Linked DNA regions of Homo sapiens: region 2 is linked to region 1. The links are contacts of gene promoters, found by promoter capture Hi-C in blood cells and fetal thymus (Javierre and others, 2016). All regions are on one chromosome and are shown on one strand. The core of a region is centred on a gene start or on the middle of the fragment in contact, and the rest is flanking DNA. Distances in the headings are between cores, read along the strand shown.

The links. Contacts are between HindIII fragments. The CHiCAGO score rates a contact against its expected background, and 5 or more counts as called.
Region 2: a contact is called between a fragment that was not itself captured here and the fragment with the promoter of CAVIN1 in region 1, in 4 of 17 cell types (megakaryocytes, M2 macrophages, endothelial precursors and 1 more). The highest score is 11.5, in megakaryocytes.

Annotation. Positions count from the first base shown.
Region 1 is chr17:42,421,607-42,426,993 of GRCh38, forward strand. It overlaps CAVIN1 (caveolae associated protein 1), which reads right to left and starts at 1,650. Exons shown (of 2, transcript NM_012232.6): 1 at 1,021-1,650. The coding sequence starts at 1,491. It overlaps LOC102725238 (a long non-coding RNA gene), which reads left to right and starts at 1,582. Exons shown (of 4, transcript XR_007065758.1): 1 at 1,582-1,666; 2 at 3,285-3,456. The HindIII fragment of the contact is 2,664 bases long and covers 1-2,139 here.
Region 2 is chr17:42,466,744-42,472,821 of GRCh38, forward strand. ATP6V0A1 (ATPase H+ transporting V0 subunit a1) reads left to right here. Exons shown (of 22, transcript NM_001130021.3): 4 at 1,267-1,364; 5 at 3,347-3,475. Among named protein-coding and RNA genes, the nearest start is that of ATP6V0A1, 11 kb to the left of the region's middle. The HindIII fragment of the contact is 5,529 bases long and covers 1-5,287 here.

The DNA of each region.
Region 1 (5,387 bases), core at 400-2,899:
AGGAGCAGCATAGAAACCCGAGACTCCCAGGTTTATTGGGGGTTATGATCCAAAAGCTACATTTTTATCCAAGTGTGAAGAATGGGGAGAGCTGCAAAGAAAGCAACAAGTGGCCCCGGGCGGAGCCGGGGGGTGGGGGCGCCAGCCTCCTCCCGCCGGCTGCGCTGCTGCGCCTGGCCCCCGCCCCCGCAGGCATGCGGGGTGATTCACCTCGCCCAGACTGCGCCCAGACCGCCGGACCCCGCAGGGGCTGTCCACCCACTCCACCAGCCCCTCTTGCACTCCTGACGCCCACTCTTCCCCGCCCAGCCCCGCCCGCTTCCAGGAGGCCCAGGGTGCCAGCGCGCCGCGGGTGAGGGTGTCCTCAAGGGCCTGAAAATGCCTGGTGGCCAGGAGCAGAGAGCAGCGAGGGGACAGGGGTGGGCCGCCGAGGCCGATGTGGGGGCGCGGGGGCGCAGGGTCTGGGGAGGAGGTTGGCGGTCGCGTTCCCCGCTTGGCACAGCCCCCGCTGGTGCGTGCCTGAGCCCTGAATCACCCGCTATATCAGGCCCGCAGGCGCAGAGGCCCCAGGCCCGGGCCCCGCAGCCAGTGTCCGCTTACAGCGGACCCCAACGATCGCGAGGGACCCCTGACTTTCCTAGAAACTTCCCCCAAGTAGGAAGAAGTTTGACAGAGCCAATTAGGGAGGGAGCGGTCTGCGAGGGGCAGCGTCCTCGAGTCCACCCGCTAATTCGGTTCTGCTACAAGTTTGGGACCCGAGGGAAGGATCTGAGTGGGGAGGTGCGAGGTGCAGAGCGCGCCCCTCTACGCGCCCCAGGAGTCCGCCGCTCCCTCCACCCCATCCTACCCCACCCAACCCCACCCCAGCCGCGCTCACCGGAAGGAGGGTGGATCTGCCGGGCGCCCGGGCCAGGCTGGGAGGGGAGCAGCGCCACGGGCAGGTCTCCCCACCCCAACTCCCAGGCAGGGGACGCGGGCCGGGCGCGGGAGCTCTGGGCGCCTTCCGCCCTGTGGGCTCACCTGGTAGATCATGACTTTAAAGTTGCGGCGCCGCAGCAGCTCGGCCTCGTTGACCTCCAGCTTCTTGATCTGCCCCGCCTGGCGCTCCAGGCTGCCGCGCACGGTCTTCACGTTGACGCTGACCTTGCGCACCTTCTCCAGCAGCTTGCTCACCGTATTGCTCGTGGTGGCGTGCGCCTTGCCCAGCTTGCTCAGCTCGCCCTGGATGCTCTGCACTGCGCCCTCCATCTCCGCCTGCCGCTCCTCCAGCTGTGCTTGAGTCAGCTGGATCTGGTCTACGGCCCCGATGATTTTGTCCAGGAGGCTCAGCACCAGCACGCCGTTCACCTGGTCCGACTTGATCAGCTCTTCTGAGCCGGCCCCCGACGGCTCCTCCGCTGCCTGAGCCCCAGCGGAGGAAGGCTCCGGGGCCTCGGCGTCGGGGTACCCGGGAAGCGGCCGCTCGACAATATAGAGCGTGGGGTCCTCCATGGCTACCCGGAGCCGTGCGGGACCGGCCGGGTGGGGCTGGAGCTGGAGCGGGAGACCCGGAGAGAAGCAGGAGCGGAAGGGAGGAGAGCTAGCGGGCGAGAGCGGAGAGCAGAGGAAACTCGAGCCACGTCCGTGCGCACCGGGACAGCGGCCAGAACTGCTGGGCGGGGGATCGGTGAGCTCCCCAGCTCCCGGGCCAAACTCCGGAGTCTGATCGCTGATTGGCTGGCCCCACCCCAGAAAGGGAGGGACCGGGGCAGAAGGGGAGATCGACGAGGCGGGGCGGCGGAGGGGGACCCAAGAGCCGAGCGCCCCACCCTTCCCGGGATGGTTGGAATAGTTGGAGCGGGAGACTAGGGCCTCCGCTGGCGGCGGGAGCGGGACGGGCGGAGGAATGCGAGCTGAGGAACGGAATCAGGTTCTAAGAGTGTTGCTCTCTGTTTCCCTCTCACTTGAATTGCTCATCCGAAAATCCTCAAGATCTGGGAGCCGGGTGGACCAGGAGATTCTGAAATTATAGGCAAAATCTTGTATTTGCCTTTACCTAGATTTTGAGCACAAAAGGACCCTTGCCCTTTACAATATTTTCTAAGAGGCCTCTCGGATTTCCTCATCACCAACCCCAACCAGGTTACTAACTCAGGGGTAAGCTTAGGGGGTTGTTTGTGGGGGGCGGGGGGAGAAAGAGAGAACGTATTTGGGGTCACGGTGGTGGTGAAGGGCTGCGAAGCTCCTCTAAGTTCTTTTTAGAATTGCCCTAACAGAGTAGAATTAAGATGGGCAATCAAACGGAAAATAAAGCCCACCTCCCAACCCCCCTTTCTGAGACAGGGTGTCACTCTGTCACCCAGGCTGGAGTGCAGCGGTCTGATCACAGTTCACTGCAGCCTCGACCTCTTGGGCTCAGGCAATCCTCCCACTTCAGCCTCCTGAGTAGATGAGACTATAGGCGCTTGCCACCACGCCCAGCTAATTTCAATTTTTATTTTTTTCAATTTTTATTTTTTTAAGAGACGGGGTGTACACTATTTTGACCAGGCTGGTCTCGAACTCCTGAGCTCAAGTGATCTGCTGGTTTCAGCCTCTCAAAGTGCTGGGAGCCACCGCGCCTGGTGTAAAGCCCTTTTTAAAAGCCCACCTCTCTTAGGCCAGGCGCGGTGGCTCATGCCTGTAATCCCAGCACTTTGGGAGGCCCAGGCGGGTGGATCACGAGGTCAGGAGTTCAAGACCAGCCTGGCCCAAGATGGTGAAACCCCGTCTCTGTTACAAATACAAAAATTAGGCCAGGCGCAGTGGCTCATTTTGGGAGGCGGAGGTGGGTGGATCACCTGAGGTCGGGAGTTCGACCTCAGCCTGACCAACATGGAGAAACCCCATCTCTACTAAAAATACAAAATTAGCCAGGCGTGGTGGCGCATGCCTGTAATCCCAGCTATTCGGGAGGCTGAGGCAGGAGAATCACTTGAACCCGGGGGGCAGAGGTTGCAATGAGCTGAGATTCGCGCCATTGCACTCCAGCCTGAGTGGAATTCTACAGAGTAGAATTCCTCTTTTTTCCAAAAGCTTTTTCAATCCTTAGTAGAAGGAATTTAAATTACTTTAATACATTTCTCCTAAATTCTAAAGTAAGTTGGTAATCTGCCAGTTGGTAATCCACTGTCTGAGTGCAGACAGAGTGAGACTCTGTCTCAAAAAAACAAAAAAAACAAAAACAAAAGCAACCCACAAACCCACGTCTCACCTCTCTCTAAAACTCACCTTTCCCTGTGTTCCCCCTCCCACCGCCCCCTCAGAGGCAGCTGACACCAATCTCAGTGAGCAGGATCTAGGAGTCCATTTCTCTTTCAAGATTCCAGGGACTAACAGTAAGCCATCGGAGAGACCATCAAATCCCACCCCCTCATTTGACAGACAGGAAAAGGAAAGCCTGCAGAAGACAGGTGGCTTGCCAGAGATCACTCGCAGGTTAGTGTTGGCATTGGCACTTGAACCCAGGTCTGGACTCCTGCTTTCATGCTCTTTCCACCTTCTGCTCTAAGCCTTCCACTGGGGCAGGGAGACAGGCACCCACAGCCACTCCCCAACTCCCATGTGCTGTTTCAGAAGATTAACCAAAGCATATTTTCATCCATGCTGGGTACAAGGGAGCAGGCAATTCTGAGCAGGCCCAAGGAGGGTCCTTAGTGCAGAAAGTCCAGAAATAGGGAGGCTGCCCATCCTCCCCCATTTTGCTGTCTAGCACAGCACTGGTGCTGTGAGTGTCTGAAGTGGCGCCAGCTCCCTTTCCCACAGAAAAGCGGCAACCCTTTTCCCTCCTTAGGAAACCACACTTGGGTTTCCCCAGCTGGCTGGATGATGGTCCTGGCAAAAGGTCACTTCTAGTCTGGTATCCATTATCATTAGGAAGAGTGAAAAACTGGTCTATGGGGACCCAGGGCCTCCTCAACCCAGACAGAGAACCCACAAACTCAGAAAGGAGACCGACAGTGCAGGGACTGGGTTAGTGCCCTAACAACATTGTAGGGTTTTTTAAGGGTTTACAACACCATATTTGTTATCCGAAATTCTCATAGAAAATGGAGCCATCAACTAGGGCTGTTTATCAGGTTATCCTGAAGTACTGTTTCTGCTAGAAAGGCAAGATACGTGGTTACTGGTAACCTCTTTTTTTCCTTTTTTTTTTTTTTTTTCTTGAGATGGAGTCTCACTCTTTTGCCAGGCTGGAGTGTAGTGGTGCAGTCTTGGCTCACTGCACCCTCCACTTCCTGGGTTCAAGCGATTCTTCTGCCTCAGCCTCCCGAGTACCTGGGACTACAGGCACGCACCACCACACCCAGATAATTTTTTTTTTGTATTTTTAGTAGACACGGGGTTTCGCCATGTTGGGCAGGATGGTCTCAATCTCTTGAGCTCGTGATCCACCCACCTTGGCCTCCCAAAGTGCTGGGATTACAGGTGTGAGCCACTGTGCCCCGCCTTTTTTTTTTTTTTTTTAAGACAGAGTCTCACTCTGTTGACCCTGCAGCCTCGAACTCCCGGGTTCAGGTGATCCTCCCACCTCAGCCTCCCAAATAGCTGTGACTATAAGCGCACACCATCACACCCAGCTAATTTTTGTATTTTTTGTAGAAATGGGGTTTCACCGTGTTGCCCACGCTGGTCTCAAACACCTAGGCTCAAGGGATCCACCTGCCTTGGCCTCCCAAAATGCTAGGAATACAGGCGTGAGCCACTTCGGCTTTGTGTTTTTTCCAACTTTTTTTTTTTTTTTGAGACAAGGTCTTGCTCTGTCATGCAGGCTGAGTGCAGTGGCACAATCACAGCTCACTGCAGTCTTGACCTCCTGGACTCAAGTGATCCTCCCACCTCACCCTCTCAAGTAGCTTGGACTACAGGTGTGCCACCACACCGGGTACCCTAACACTTCAATAACTGTTTTCTCACAAACAAATGGCTTTCTCATTTGAGGCTCAAGTAGAATTAAGCTAGTATATAAGATCATATATACACATATAACTGCTAGAACTGGCAGATTACCAACTTACTTTAGAATTTAGGAGAAATGTATTAAAGTAATTTAAATTCCTTCTACTAAGGATTGAAAAAGCTTTTGGAAAAAAGAGGAGTGACAGTAGAGAACCTTATAGGACCTTCATTTCTTAAGTGTCCCATAAGATCCTTAGATGATGATGATTATTATTATTATCATTTTTTTTTTTGAGATGGAGTCTCTCTCTGTCACCCAGGCTAGAGTGCAATGGCACAATCTCGGCTCACTGCAACCTCCACCTCCCGGGTTCAAGCGATTCTCCTGCCTCAGCCTCCCAAGTAGCTGGGATTACAGGTGTGTGCCCCCATGCCCAGCTAATTTTTTTTTTTTTTTGAGACGGAGTCTT
Region 2 (6,078 bases), core at 1,273-3,772, 46 kb after region 1:
TTTTTGTGAGATTTTAATAACAAAACTACATGATAGAATTTTGAGAAATAGGACCCAGCACACCATCAGTTTTTGTCAGCAGAGCCACCTTTTAATTTGAGCTATTTAAGAGGGAAGAAACTGGCTGGGCCCGGTGGCTCACACCTGTAATCCCAGCACTTTGGGAGGCTGAGGCGGGTGGATCACGAGGTCAGGAGATCGAGACCATCCTGGCTAACATGGTAAAACCCCGTCTCTACTAAAAATACAAAAAATTAGCTGGGCGTGGTGGCAGGCGCCTGTAATCCCAGCTACTGGGGAGGCTGAGGCTGGAGAATGGCATGGACCCGGGAGGCAGAGCTTGCAGTGAGCTGAGATCGCACCACTGCACTCCAGCCTGGGCGACAGAGCGAGACTCCGTCTCAAAAAAAAAAAAAGGGAGGAAACTAACATTTATCTAAGTTCTCTTGAGGGCTAGGTTGCTCATATACATTACTTTATTCATTCTCCACAACATTCCTTCAAGATGGGTATTATCTTATTTAATAATTGAGGAAACTAAAGATTAGAGAGGCTTAATGACTTGCCCTAGATCATAAACAGTTATGATGGAATCAGTATTTGAAGCCAGGTTGCTCTCTCTGGCTCAAAAGTCCATGATCTTGCCACTCTACTAAGCCAGCTTATGGTTAGCTGATAAGTGAATTTGGTCCCCACTATAAAAAACAGTTGTAGTTGTTACCTGAAACACTCTTCTCTTCTGGTATTTTGTGTCCTTATTACCTGTTCTGCTTTTTCATTTTTGTTTTTTATGCTTAAAACTGACCTGATTGTTTTCAAATTTAATGAACCCCTTTAGATCTAGAGTTGTCTCACTAGTGTGTTAAGTGTCAAATATTCTATTGCATTATACTCTTCTTCATAACTCTGCTTTGCCAATAATATCTATAAGCAGAACTGTCATACTTTGGAGTGGCATTCGCGTATGGAGGAGAGGTGTGGCCTTGAAGGCCAGTGTTAAGACCTGAAGAAGGAAAGAAGGCAGTTGTGGGATGACCACCCTTTGGAGTAACTTTAGAGAATGTGAGGAAGGAGAAAGAGGGATGGGGAGAAAAAAGGTGCTTCTTTCATATTAAAAGATATTATATCTTTTATATATATATATAAAGTATCTTTTTTGAATAAAACTTTTTGTAACCAGGTCTTAGATGTTAATTCTTTTCCTTAAATAATGGCAATTACGAGCATGTGCAGTTAGACATGAATGTTTTGATTCTGTCATTTTAGGATTTGTTGAGAAAGAGATAAGAAAAGCTAACATTCCGATTATGGACACCGGTGAAAACCCAGAGGTTCCCTTCCCCCGGGACATGATTGACTTAGAGGTAAACACTTCTGGGAAAACCAGAAAAGTTTCTTTCTACTTGAACGCAGAAATTACTTTCCTGAGCAGATAGAGAGTAAAGTAATTCTTGCTAACTTTGTCAGCATTATCTACTGATTGTAAGTTTCTTGTAGGTGGGATTTTGATAGATAATATTTGTACACATTTATGGTGTACATGTGATATTTTGGTATATACATAGAATGTGTATATACCAAGTCAGGGTATTTGGAGTATCCATCACCTTGAGTATTTACCATTTCTATGTGTTGGGAACATTTCAATTCTTCTCTTCTAGCTATTTTGAAATATATACAGTACATTGCTGTTAACTATAGGCACCCTACTCTGCTATTGAGCATTAGAACTTATGCCTTCTATCTAACTGTATGTTTGTCCACATTAACCAACCTCTCTTCATCCCCCCACAAACCCACACACCCTTCATAGCCTCTGGTATCTATCATTCCACTCCCTACCTCTATGAGATCAACTTTTTTAGCTCCCACATATGAGTGAAAACTTGTATTATTTGTCTGTGCCCTGCTTATTTCGCTTAACATAATGACCTCCAGTTCTATCCATGTTGCTGCAAATGACATGATTTTATTCTTTTTTTATGGCCAGACCATATGAATCCCCTCTTTTATGGTGACAAACAGCACTCAAACAGTATTATATGCCACTAAGTAAATGTTTATTGGTTTATCGAAACCTTATTGGAGTAAGTTATCTACTATTTTATTTTATTTTATTTTATTTTTGAGACATAGCTATCACCTAGGCTGGACTACAGTGACCCCATCTTGGCTCACTGCAACCCCTGCCTCCCAGGCTCAAGCAGTTCTAGTACCTCAGCCTCCAGAGTAGCTGAGACGATAGCTGTGTGCCAACATGCCTGGCTAATTTTTTTGTATTTTTTGTAGAGATGGGATTTTCCCATGTTGGCCAGCTTGATCTCGAACTCCTAACCTCAAGCAATCTGCCTGCCTCAGCCTCCCAAAGTACTGGGATTACAGGTGTGAGCTACCACACCTGGCCTATCTACTAGTTGGTTAATCTTGCAATCTTGCAGACTAAATGGGCAGCCAGTAGACTTCTCAGTAATTATTTTATCCATCTGAAATCGCCTGAGAAAGTTACCAAGTATACAATAGAATGTGTAAACAAAGAAAGACTATTTTTTTGACTTCTACAATGACTTAGAAAGGAAAGACTTTTTTTTTTTTTTTTTTTTTTTTCCAGACAGAGTCTTGCTCTCTCACCCAGCCTGGAGTGCAGTGGTGCGATCTTGGCTCACTGCAACCTCCGCCTCCCGGGTTCAAGCCATTCTCCTGCCTCAGCCTCCCAGGTAGCTGGGATTACAGGCATGCACCACTGCACCCAGCTAATTTTTTTTTGTATTTTTAGTAGAGACGGGGTTTCGCCATGTTTGGCCAGGCTGGTCTTGAACTCCTGACCTCAGATGAGCCACCCACCTCAGACTCCCTAAGTGCTGGGATTACAGGAGTGAGTCACCATGCCCGGCCAGGAAAGACTATTTATTTATTTATGAGATGGAGTTTTGCTCTTGTTGCCCAGGCTGAAGTACAGTGGTGTGATCTTGGCTTACTGCAACCTCCACCTCCCGGGTTCAAGTGATTCTCCTGCTTCAGCCTCCCAAGTAGCTGGGACTACAGTCATGCGCCAGCACGCCCAGCTAATTTTGTATTTTTAGTAGAGACGTGGTTTCACCATTTTGGTCAGGCTGGTCTCGAACTCCTGACCTCAAGTGATCCACCCGCCTCGGCCCAGGAGAGATTATTTTAAGCAAAAAAATTTCCATAAAGAAAATTGCTCTAGTAAAATCACAGTATTTGCTAGGCAAGTCCAAGTTCTCTTTGAACTATCGGCTTGGCAACAGTTCTGTGGGATGAATTCATTTAATGTCTTTCAGAGCAAACATATTGAGCTTAGCTTAATATATTTTCTTATTTCATCTAGGCCAATTTTGAGAAGATTGAAAATGAACTGAAGGAAATCAACACAAACCAGGAAGCTCTGAAGAGAAACTTCCTGGAACTGACCGAATTAAAATTTATACTTCGCAAAACTCAGCAATTTTTTGATGAGGTCAGACTATTGTTTCTTTTAGTATTTGAGCAGCTGATATTATACTCACACAAGTGGGCCATATTTTTATTCCAGTAATTATTTTAATTTGCTAGTTTGGAAGCAATGCCATTTTTGCACCCTGTTTTAGTTACAGAAATGTGAGATTATGTTCCATTTTTCATGCAGTACACAACCAGCCATGGTTTTGCATTTTTTCACATTTTCTTCAATTTTTCATCTCAATATGAGGAAAAGAACCCTGAAGTAGTTGTATAAACATAGTTAGTATAAATTTTTACATTATATTTATACTTATAAGGTAAGTATATGCTTAAGGTTAAAGCTGAGGAAGCAAACATTTGGTTATAGACAAAATTATAACAAAGGTTTAATCACCAAACCTTTTGTCATCAAATTTTTATTTCATTGTCTATGTTTGCTTATAAACCTTCGAGCACATTTTTCAGTACTTCAGATAGCACACATCACACTAATTTTTCAAGAGTTTTTCATTGTATTTATTGTATGGAAAATATTGGTAGGATGCTTGTTTGAAACTTCTGGATTATCACATAAACTTAGACGCATTACCTCAGAGGGAAAAATGTTAGTAAAGTTCTTGGGTTAAATATGTAGGTGAGGCCAGGCATGGTGGCTCATGCGTGTAGTCCCTGCACTTTGGGAGGCCGAGGCAGGTGGATCACCTGAGGTCAGGAGTTCGAGATCAGCCTGGCCAACATGGTGAAACCCGGTCTCTACTAAAAATACAAAAACTAGCCGGGTGAGGTGGTGGTTGCCTGTAATCCCAGCTACTCGAGAGGCTGAGGCAGGAAAATCATTTGAACCTGGGAGGTGGACGTTGCATTGAGCTGAGATTGCTCCACTGCACTCCAGCCTGGGCGACAGAGTGAGACTCTATCTCAAAAAAAAAAAATGTAGGCTGGGCGCGGTGGCTCATGCCTGTAATCCCAGCACTTTGGGAGTCCGAGGTGGGCGGATCACGAGGTCAGGAGATCAAGACCATCTTGGCTAACACGGTGAAACCCCGTCTCTGCTAAAAAAATACAAAAAATTAGCCGGGCATGGTGGTGGGCACCTGTAGTCCCAGCTAATCAGGAGGCTGAGGCAGGAGAATGGCGTGAACCCGGGAGGCGGAGCTTATAGTGAGCCGAGATCGCGCCACTGCACTCCAGCCTGGGCGACAGAGCAAGACTCTGTCTCAAAAAAAAAAAAAAAAAATGTAGGTGACTTGGTTGGGCATGGTGGCTCACACCTGTAATCCCAGTACTTTGGGAGGGTGAAGTGGGCAGATCACTTGAGCCCAGGAGTTCAGGATCAGCCTGGGCAACATGGTGAAACCCCGTCTCCACAAAAAATACAAAAATTAGACAGGCATCGTGGTGCACACCTGTAGTTCCAGCTACTCGGGAGGCTGAAGTGAGGGGATTGCTTGAGCCCAGGAGGCAGAGGTTGCAGTGAGCGGAGATTAAGCCACTTTACTCCAGCCTGGGGGACAGAGCAAGACTGTCTCAAAAAAAAAATGTAGGTGACTTAGTCCAGGTGACAATGTGCTGAGGTGACTCCATGGAAAGGATCTGGAGCAAGGCTTCCAGAATGCTCCCTTCTCCTAACTCAGTCTGGGGAGGAGTCTTAGCTTTCAACTTGGATGTGGTTTTTCTGATGGCCTAAAGTACAGTAACTGTCTTCTTGACAGGTGTCTTTGCCACCAGATTGACAATATTAGACACTTTAGGGATTGTTACAGTCACTGTTCAATGTGCCTTCCCATAAAGTTCTTTCATTCCTTTGCTCAACAAGAAAACTTGGCAAAGCTTTTAAATATAGAGGCCCTTTTTTTTTTTTTTTTTCCCGAGACAAAGTCTCACTGTGTTGCCCAGGCTGGAGTGCAGTGGAGTAATCTTAGCTCACTGCAACCTCCACCTCCCAAGCTCAAGCAATTCTCCTGCCTCAGCCTCCCGAGTAGCTGGGATTACAGGTGCTCACCACCACCCCCAGCTAATTTTTGTATTTTCAGTAGAGACAGCGTTTCACCATGTTGGCCAGGCTGGTCTCGAACCTCTAGCCTCAAGTGATCCATCCACCTCTGTCTCCCAAAGTGCTGGGATTACAGGTGTGAGCCACTGTGCCTGGTAGAGTCCCATTTTAGTTAGCATCTGCTGTGTTCTCAGTTGTACTTTAAATTTATATATATAGTTTTTATTTTTATTTTTTATTGTTTTTAGGCCGGGCGCGGTGGCTAACGCCTATAATCCCAGCACTTTGGGAGGCCGAGGCAGGGGGATCACGAGGTCAGGAGTTCAAGACCAGCCTGACCAACATGGTGAAACCCCGTCTTCTACTAAAAATACAAAAATTAGCCAGGCATGGTGGCGGGCGCCTATAATCCCAGCTATTCATGAGGCTGAGGCAGGAGAATCGCTTGAACCGGGGAGGCGGAGGTTGTAGTGAGCTGAGATCGCACCACTGCACTCTAGCCTGGGCGAAAGAGCGAGACTCCATCTCAAAAAAAAAAATTGTTTTTAACTGCCTCATCTCAGAAATTTTTCTCTTTTGAGGGGAGATCAAATATCCAGAATTCTCTAGACTGGAGCAGGGGTTTT